Regions from separate parts of the Homo sapiens genome. Here region 2 is linked to region 1. The links are contacts of gene promoters, found by promoter capture Hi-C in blood cells and fetal thymus (Javierre and others, 2016). All regions are on one chromosome and are shown on one strand. The core of a region is centred on a gene start or on the middle of the fragment in contact, and the rest is flanking DNA. Distances in the headings are between cores, read along the strand shown. Region 1 holds the start of KASH5 (KASH domain containing 5). Region 2 overlaps LOC107985340 (a long non-coding RNA gene).

Evidence for each region. The method cuts DNA at HindIII sites, captures the fragments that hold promoters and counts their contacts. A CHiCAGO score of 5 or more calls a contact.
Region 2: a fragment that was not itself captured here is called in contact with the fragment with the promoter of KASH5 in region 1 in 3 of 17 cell types (naive B cells, total B cells and M2 macrophages); the score reaches 9.8 in naive B cells.

The regions. Positions count from the first base shown.
Region 1 is chr19:49,386,974-49,391,321 of GRCh38, reverse strand. It overlaps KASH5 (KASH domain containing 5), which reads right to left and starts at 3,073. Exons shown (of 20, transcript NM_144688.5): 1 at 2,995-3,073; 2 at 396-533. The coding sequence starts at 438. LOC101928295 (a long non-coding RNA gene) reads left to right here and starts at 3,241. Exons shown (of 3, transcript NR_110729.1): 1 at 3,241-3,966. The HindIII fragment of the contact is 10,613 bases long and covers 1-4,348 here.
Region 2 is chr19:49,259,238-49,263,657 of GRCh38, reverse strand. The region is part of intron 2 of LOC107985340 (a long non-coding RNA gene); the gene reads right to left. Among named protein-coding and RNA genes, the nearest start is that of MIR4324, 47 kb to the left of the region's middle. The HindIII fragment of the contact is 6,522 bases long and covers 1-4,420 here.

The DNA.
Region 1 (4,348 bases), core at 1,824-4,323:
TAGCAGGGGAGACAGAGACAAAACATGACATACAGATGTGAGCACTGTGAAGAGAAATGAAGCGGGGCAGGGGAGAGAGTGTCACAGGGCAGCTGCTTTACATAAAGTAAGAAGTGCCATCTGGGCCGCGATCTGAATGGAGTAAGGGGTGCGGCTGCTTGCGCTCTCACACAGTCCAGCCTCCCCACAGGAGATAAGGGGTAGTGACAGGTGGGCGGGCATAGAGTAGGCACTTAATCTACCAGAGTCCCTTCCCTCCCTTCCACTCTGCACCCATGCAAAGGCTCAGCCACCCCCAGCCACCTCTCCCAAGTCCCCGAGTCACAGCCTGGCACCCATTCACCCATGGCTCCCTCCTCACCCTCCCCGGGGCAAATAGGGTTCCAGCCACTTACTTTCCGCAGTGGGGCCACCCACCGGGCCCTCGGGCAGGTCCATGGGCCACCCCTGCCGCGGCGCAGCTGCTGGCAAAGCTACCAGCCTCCCTCCTTCATGGGGAGGGATGGGAAAAGGACCAGCTGGCCCGAGCACTCCTGGAAGGAGAAGCAGGAAATGGTGTCCTCAGAGCAGCCACCAAGGGTCGGGGCCTGCCTAGCCCCACCTGTGCCCCAGGACCTCTGGGTCCTCACAACCTGTTTGTCACCCCCGCTGTGACCTGAGCAGCTCCGCTCTGACCTGTTTTATGGATTGGAGGTGTGGGCTGGAGAACGAGGTGGCTGACATCAAAGGGGCTAGTGGGTGGGTGGGGGAGGTCACTGCCTCCCTTTCTTCACATGGCTTGCCGCCGGTCCAGGCTGCCTGGTCCTCTTCCCTGGCCTTTGTCCCAGCCTCCTATCCCCAGGCTTGTCCTCCAGTCTGTCCCCACAGGGCCCCAGAGCTGACCTGCCCCTCCCCTGCTAAGTACCCTTCCATGGCTCCCTGAATCCTGGGTACGGGTGAGACCCTGGCCCTGACGCCAAGGCCCTGCATGGCTGACCGCCCACCTCAGCACCCCAAATCGCACATGATGCTCCAGCCACTCTGAGCTGCGGACCGCTCCCATGCCCAGGTCTCTGCCTGGGACGCCCTCCTGCATCCTGCTTCGGCTTCACGTGGCCTCTTCCGGGAAGCGAGGGGCCGTGTCTGGCTCCCACACAGCCCTGGGCAGCTGCCATTCTTGCCACATCAGCCTGGATTTGGCCGGCTGGCTTCTCATGGGAGTTTGATCCTGACTTGCCCCTGCTCCTGATCCTCCCATGGCTCCCTAATGCCCCCGGACTAAGTTCCAGTCCCTCAGGCTAGAGTGGCATTGAGTAGTCTCTGAAGCTCCTGCCTCTTCCTGTCCCTTTTCTCTCCGTCGGGCAACCCCTAGGTCTCTCCTCATCATGGCCCCAAACCTGCTGCTCCCCTGGGTTCCAACTCAGGATGTACATGGTCCCCCAAGCCCAGGCCACCTCCTCCTCATCCCTGCCAGCCCCACTTGCAGCTGCTCTGGGCAGTCCCTGCAGCAGTGACAGGAGTTTGGGGGGCCCCATCCTGCCTCCATTCCACCCAGGCCGACCCAAAACCTTAGTGGCCGCACTCTGGGGGCTAGAGAGAGACCTGGGCGCTGCTATCATCACAGCGGGCACGGGCGCCCCTTGGGGCCACCAGTCGAGCCTGGGCTCGCCTGTCCTCACCCAGCTCCCCCAGTGCCTGCTCTCCCCAAGCCACGTGAGCCCGCTGCCACCGTTCTGGAAACACGGGTCTTTGAAGAGAGGCCCTTCCAGGGTCTGGAACACCCTGCAGGGTGCAAAGGGGGGCGATGGCCTTGGCTGGGCCCTGGCGCACGGAGTGGGTTCGGGATGGAGTCCTGAGGGACCCCGGGGGTGTTGGTTGATCTCGGGGGTCTGACGGGACTGAGACGGGGACACTGAAGCAGGATGGGGCCCTGGCAGGAGCTCTGGGTGGTGTGGGCCTTGGCGGGCTTTCAAGGGCTCTGACAGGATTTTGGGGGGGTCTCTGACTGGATTTCTGGGGAGTGTCTGGCTGGATTTTGGAGATTTTGATTTCTGTGGGGGTCTCTGACTGGATTTCAGGGGTCTCTGGCTGGATTTCGGGGGTCTTGATTTCTGCGGGGGTCTGATTGGATTTCTGGGGGTTCTCTGACTGGATTTTGGGGGTCTTGATTTATTCGGGGTCTCTGGATTTTGGGGGTCTTGATTTATGCGGGGGTCTCTGGATTTCTGGGGGTCTCTGGCTGGATTTTGGGGGTCTTGATTTCTGCAGGGGTCTGACTGGATTTCTGGGGGTCTCTGGCTGGATTTGGAGGGTCTTGATTTCTGCGGGGGTCTCTGAGTGCATTTCGGGGTCTCCGTTTCTGGGGTGTCTTTGATGGACTTCTGTGCTCTCTGACGGAATCTGAGGTCCGACTGGGTTTGGGAGGGGACCTGCCAGGATTTCTGGGGATCTCTGACACGAGTCTAGGTGGCTCTGCTGATCTGGGGAGAGTAATAGGATTTTGGGGAAAGTTTCTGGCAGGCTCTGAGGGAGAAGTCTGACAATTTCTAGACGATTCTGACAGGATTTCGGGGGTCAACTATAAGATTTCCTGGTGGACTCCTTTCAGTATATCTGAGGGGATGTGGTCAGGATTTTTTTTTTTTTTTTTGAGACGGAGTCTCACTCTTGTCACCCAGGCTGGAGTGCAGTGGCGCGATCTCAGCTCACTGCAACCTCTGCCTTCCAGGTTCAAGCAGTTCTCCTGCCCCAGCCTCCTGAGTAGCTGGGATTATAGGCGCGTGCCACTACGCCTGGCTAATTTTTTGTATTTTTAGTAGAGACGGGGTTTCACTTCCCCGGGATGGTCTCTATCTTCTGACCTCGTGATCCGCCCGCCTCGGCCTCCCAAGTGGTCAGGATCTGGGGGGCCCTGACGCAGGGGTATCTCTCCCACAATATGGGGGGGCTTCGCTAGGATTTCGGTAGGGGCTGGGAAGGGCCATTCTGGGAACCTCGCCGCGGGGCAGGGCGCACCTGGAGCCACGTCCTAGTCTCGGGACACAACGGACATCCACGAACGACGAACGGCAGTTGAGTTGGGGGAGGTGCGCGTGAGCTTTTCCCGCCAGAAAAAGCAAAAGGAGGCGAGGGGTCGCGAGTGCGCGTGCGCAGCGTCTGAGCCCCGCCCCTCCCCGCCCGGACTCCTCTTAAGACGCAGGTGCAAACCGGCGGCCGACGCGTGTCACGCATGCGCGCTGGCGGTGTGGGCTGTGGCCACGGAGTTTGTCTGGTGGTGGAAGGAGGGGGTGGCTGCGCCCGCCATGCTGGGGCTCGTGTTTTTCTCTTCCGCTTCAGGCTTTGGTGAAATGGGCTGAGGAAGGGGGAATTGAACTGAGAGACTCCTTGTCCGTCCCCCATTTCTTTCTTTTTTTTTTTTTTTTGAGATGGAGTCTCGCTCTGTCGCCCAGGCTGGAGTGCAGTGGGACAATTTTAGCTCACTGCAACCTCCGCCTCCCGGGTTCAAGCAATTCTCCTGCCTCAGCCTCCCGAGTAGCTGGGATTACATGCGCCCGCCACCACACCTGGCTAATTTTTGTATTTTTAGTAGAGACGGGGTTTCACCACGTTGGCCAGGCCGGTACCGAACTCCCAACCTCAGGCGATCCACCCGCCTCGGCCTCCCAAAGTGCTGGGATTACAGGCGTGAGACACAGCGCCTGGCCTGTCCTTTTTATGTATTGCCATATTTTCTTTTCTTTTCTTTTCTGTGAGATCCCTGTTGAGTTTTGTTAACAAGGCTATGCTGATATAATGTGTGGAGAAGTGTTCTCTCTTTTTCTATTCTTTGAAAGTGCTAGTGTAGGATTGATGTTATTTATTTTTTATGTGTTTGGAAGAAGTCACCAGCCATCTGGACCTAGAGTTTTCTTTGTGGAAAGACTTTAAATTACAAATTCTATTTCTTTTATAAAAATACAACTATTCAGATGTTCTATTTTATTTCTGGTAAGTTGTGGTTTTGGTAAGTTGTGGTTTTCAAGGAATTTTTCCATTTTATCTAAAATTTCAAATAATTTGCATAAAGTTCATAATATTGTCTTTTTTTGGAGGGGGAGAAACACGGTCTTATGTTAGGCTGGTCTCGAACTCCTGCCCTCAAATGATCCTCCTACCTTGGCCTCCCAAAGTGCTGGGGTTACTGGCATGAGCCACCATGCCCAATCTTTTTAATATCTGTAAGATCTGTGGTGACGGATATTAATAATTTGTGCCATCTCTCTTTTCCCCCCTCCCTTCCCCTCTGCTCCTCTCCTCCCCTTCCCCCACTCCCCTCCCCTCATCTCCCCTCCCCCGTACCTTCCCCTCCCCTCCCGCCTCCCTTCCCTTC
Region 2 (4,420 bases), core at 1,727-4,226, 130 kb after region 1:
CTTCCAACTTTGGTCTTCTTCAAGATAGCCTTAGCCATTCTAAGGTCTTTGGCTTTCCATATAATTTTAGAACGAGCTTGTCTGTTTCCAAAAAACCAACAATATGGGATTTTGTGTTTAAGATTGCCCTGAATCTGTAGATCAATTTGGGGATAATTGACATTGTAAAAATGTTCAACTTGCCAACTCATGAACATGGTAAAATTCTCTAAGTGTTTTGCATTGTTTTGTAGTTTTCAGCGAGGTCTTACACATTTTAACTACATTGATTACTAAGTATTAAATTTCTTTGATGTTTTAAAATAGTATTTTCCAATTATTTGTTGCTACTATACAAAAATATAATTTTTTGTACAATCGCCTTATATATAGGAACTTTGCTAAATTCGATTACAAACTTAATTTCATCCATTTGTAGATTCTTTTTACATATACAATATCTGGGTTTTTTTTTTCCTGAGACAGGGTCTTACTCTTTTGTCCAAGCTGGAATGCAGTGGCATATCAGCTCACTGCAGCCTCAAACTCCTGGGCTGAAGAGATCCTCTCTCCTCAGCCTCCTGTGTAGCTAGGACTACAGGCGTGTACCACCACATCTGGCCAATTTTTTATTTCAATTTTTGTAGAAATGGAGTTTTGCTATGTTGCCCAGGCTGGTCTTGAGCTCCTGGCCTCAACTGATCCTCCTGCCTCACAGTACTAGGATTATAAGCATGAGCCACTGTGCCCAGCTACATACATGATCTCTTGACAGTATACTTACATCACCTTTAAATAAGGAAAGTTTTATTTACTTTGATCTTTATACTTTTTTTTCTTGCCTTATTGCACAGGCTAGGACCTTTAATACAATGTGGAATGAACATCCTTACCTTGTCCCCAAACTCAAGAGAAAAGCATTCATATTTCATTGTTCAGTGTGATGTTAGTTATAGGCTTAAGGAAGCTGTAGATTAAGGAAGTTGCCTTCTATTTCTAGTTTTCCCACCATTTTTTTTTTCAATTGTTCTCCAATATTTTTCTTCTACATATTATGAACCCCACAATACATTGCTGCTATTGTTACTTTAAGCACTCATTAGTCTCAAATTTGCCTACACGGTCTTGCTCTGTTGCCCAAACTGGAGTGCAATGGCATGATCAGCTCACTGCAGCCTCAAAACTTCTGGGGCTCAAGTGATCCTCTCTCCTCAGCCTCCTGAGTAGCTAGGACTACTTTGACCTAGGTAGTAGCTGGGACACCCTTTCAGGTTTTCTTTATTCCTTTCTAAATTTTATGTTATTATTTTTTAACTGACAGATGAAATTGTATGTATTTGTGTTCAACATGATGTTTTGAAATATATATACATTGTGGAATGCTAAATGTAGCTAATTTACATATCTAATATTTTTGTGGTGAGAATATTTAAAATCAGCATTTTTCAAGATTACAGTGTAGTTATTAACTTTAGTCACCATGTTGAATGATAGTTATCTTAAACCTATTCTTTTCATCTAACTGAAATTTTGTATTATTTGACCAACAACTCCCCAGCACCCCACTCCCCCATCATCCCCACTCTGGTAACCACCATTTTAGTCTCTACTTCTAGATCAACTTTTTCAGATTCCACGTATGAGTGAAATCACGCAGTATGTGTTTCTGCGTCTCTTATTTTACTCTTACATCTCTTTCCAGCTCCAATAATATTCCTTCAGCCCAAAGATTTTTAATATTTTTTGCAGTGCTGATGTGCTAATGACAAATTCTCCCAACTTTTGTCTGTCTGGTAGCATTATTTCATCATCTTTTATTATTTTTATTGAGGTGAAATCCACATAACATAAAATTAGCCATTTTAAAGAAACACTTCAGTGGCATTTAGTACTTTCACAATGTTGTGCAACCACTATCTCTATCTAGTTCCAAAACATGTCAACACCCCAAATAGAAACTCTGCACCTGGGAAGCAGTAATTCCTCTCCCTCTGCCCAGCACCCCCCTAGTAACCTCTAATATGCTGTCTCTATGAATTTGCCTATTCTAGATATTTCATATAAATAGAATCATAATATTTGTCTTTTTGTATCTGGCTTATTTCATTTAACATGTTTTCAAGGCTCATCCATGTTATAGCATGTATCTGAATTTCATTTTTTATGGATGAATAATATTCCATTGTAGGGTATACCAGAGTTTATTCTTTTTTAAATCTTTTTTTTTTTTTTTTTTTTTTTTGAGGCGGAGTCTTGCCCTGTCGCCCAGGCTGGAGTGCAGTGGCGCGATCTTGGCTCACTGCAAGCTCTGCCTCCCGGGTTCACACCATTCTCCTGCCTCAGCCTCCCGAGTAGCTGGGACTACAGACGCCTGCCACCATGCCCGGCTAATTTTTTGTATTTTTAGTAGAGACAGGGTTTCACTGTGTTAGCCAGGATGGTCTCAATCTCCTGACCTCGTGATCCGCCCGCCTCGGCCTCCCAAAGTGCTGGGATTACAGGGGTGAGCCACTGCGCCCGGCCTGAGTTCTTCCTTTCAAGTCAGGTGTGTATGTACCCGGAAGTGGAATTGTTGGATCCAATGGTAATTGTTTTACTTTTTGAGGAACTGCCAAACTGGTTTTTACCATGGCTGCTCCAGTGGACATTCTTATCCTCAATGCATAATGATTCTAATTTCACCACATCCTCCCCAGCAGTTGTTATTTCCCACTGATTTTTTTTTTTCTTGTAGCCATCTTCATCAGTGTGAAATGGTAACTCTGGTCTTGATTTGCCTGCCTCTAGTGATTAGCAATGTTGAGCATCTTTTCATCTGCTTTTTGGCCATCTGTTTATCTTCTTGGAAGAAATGTCTATTGATGTCCTTTGCCCTTTTTAAAAAATTGATTTTTAAAGTAACAGATGCAAATTATATATATTTATCATGTACAACGTGATGTTTTGGAACATGTATATGTAGTGAAATGGCGCAATAGGGCTAATTAACATACTTTGCCCATTTTTTTTAACTGAGTTTAGTTTTTTTTCAGTTGTAGGAGTTATTTTTATATTCTGGATACTCGAATCTTACCAAATACTTGATTTGCAAATGTTTTCTCCCATTCGATGGGTTATCTTTTCACTCTCTGATAATGTCTTTTGATGCACAAAAGGACAAATTTTGGTGTCATATTTAAGAAACCATTGCCAAACCAAGGTCATAGAGATTTGCTCCCCAACATTTTCTTCTAAAAGGTTTATAGTTTTTGCTCTTACATGTAGGTCTTTTATCCATTTTGTTAATTATTGTGTAGAGTGTAAGGATCCAAGGTTATTTTTTTTGCATGTGTATATCCAATTTTCCCAATATCTGTTGGAGAAACTGTCTTTTTCTCATTGAGTACTCTTGGCACTCTTGTTGAAAATTGACTACATACATAAAGGTTTATTTCTGGGCTATTCTATCCTATGGTATCCTGTTGGTTTATATGCATTCTTGTACCAGTCCCATGCAGCTTTAATTACTGTAGCAGTATAATAAGTTTTGAAATCAGGAAGCATGAGTCCTCCGACATTGTTCTTTGTCAAGTTTGTTTTGGCTCTTCTGGGCCGCCTTTAATTTCCAGATGAATTATATCATCAGCTGGTCATTTTCTGCAAAGAAGCCAGCTAGGGATTTTGAGATGGACTGCATTAATTCTATAGATCAACTTGGGAAATATTGCCATCTTAATACTTAGTTTTCTGGTTCATAAACATGGGATTTCTTTTCATTAAATCTTCTTTCAACATGTTTTGTAATTTTCAGAGTATAAAATTTGTCCTTTTGTTAAATGTATTACTAAGTATTTTATTTTTTTTTTTGACACTGCATTAGGCCACTTTTGCATTGCTATAAAGGAATACCTGACTGGTATTCCTATTGGTCTATTGTGCATCCTTATACCAGTCCCATGCTGCTTTAATTTATAAAGAAAAGAGGTTTTATTTTGGCACACGGTTCTGCAGGATATACAGGAAGCATAGTGCTAGCATCTGCTTCTGCTGAAGGCCTCAGGACACTTAAAATCTTGGTGGAAGGTCATAAAGAGCCAGCATGTCACTTCTACTACACACGAGCAGAAGCAAGAGAGAGAGGAGGAAGAGCCACACACTCTTAACCAGATCTCACAAGAAGCCATTCACTATCAAGAGGTCAGCAACAAGCCATTCATCAGAGATCTGGCCCCATGACCCAAACACCTCTCACCAGGCCCCACCTCCAACAGTAGGGATTACATTTCAACATGAGATTTGGAGGGGACAAACATCCAAACTGTATCACATACTATCATATATGGAACAGTTTTCTTAAATTTTGGATTTTTTGCAAGTATATAGAAATACAATTTTTGTATATTGATCTTGTATTCTGCAACCTTACTGAACCTATTGGAGTTCTAATAGTTTAGTGGATTCC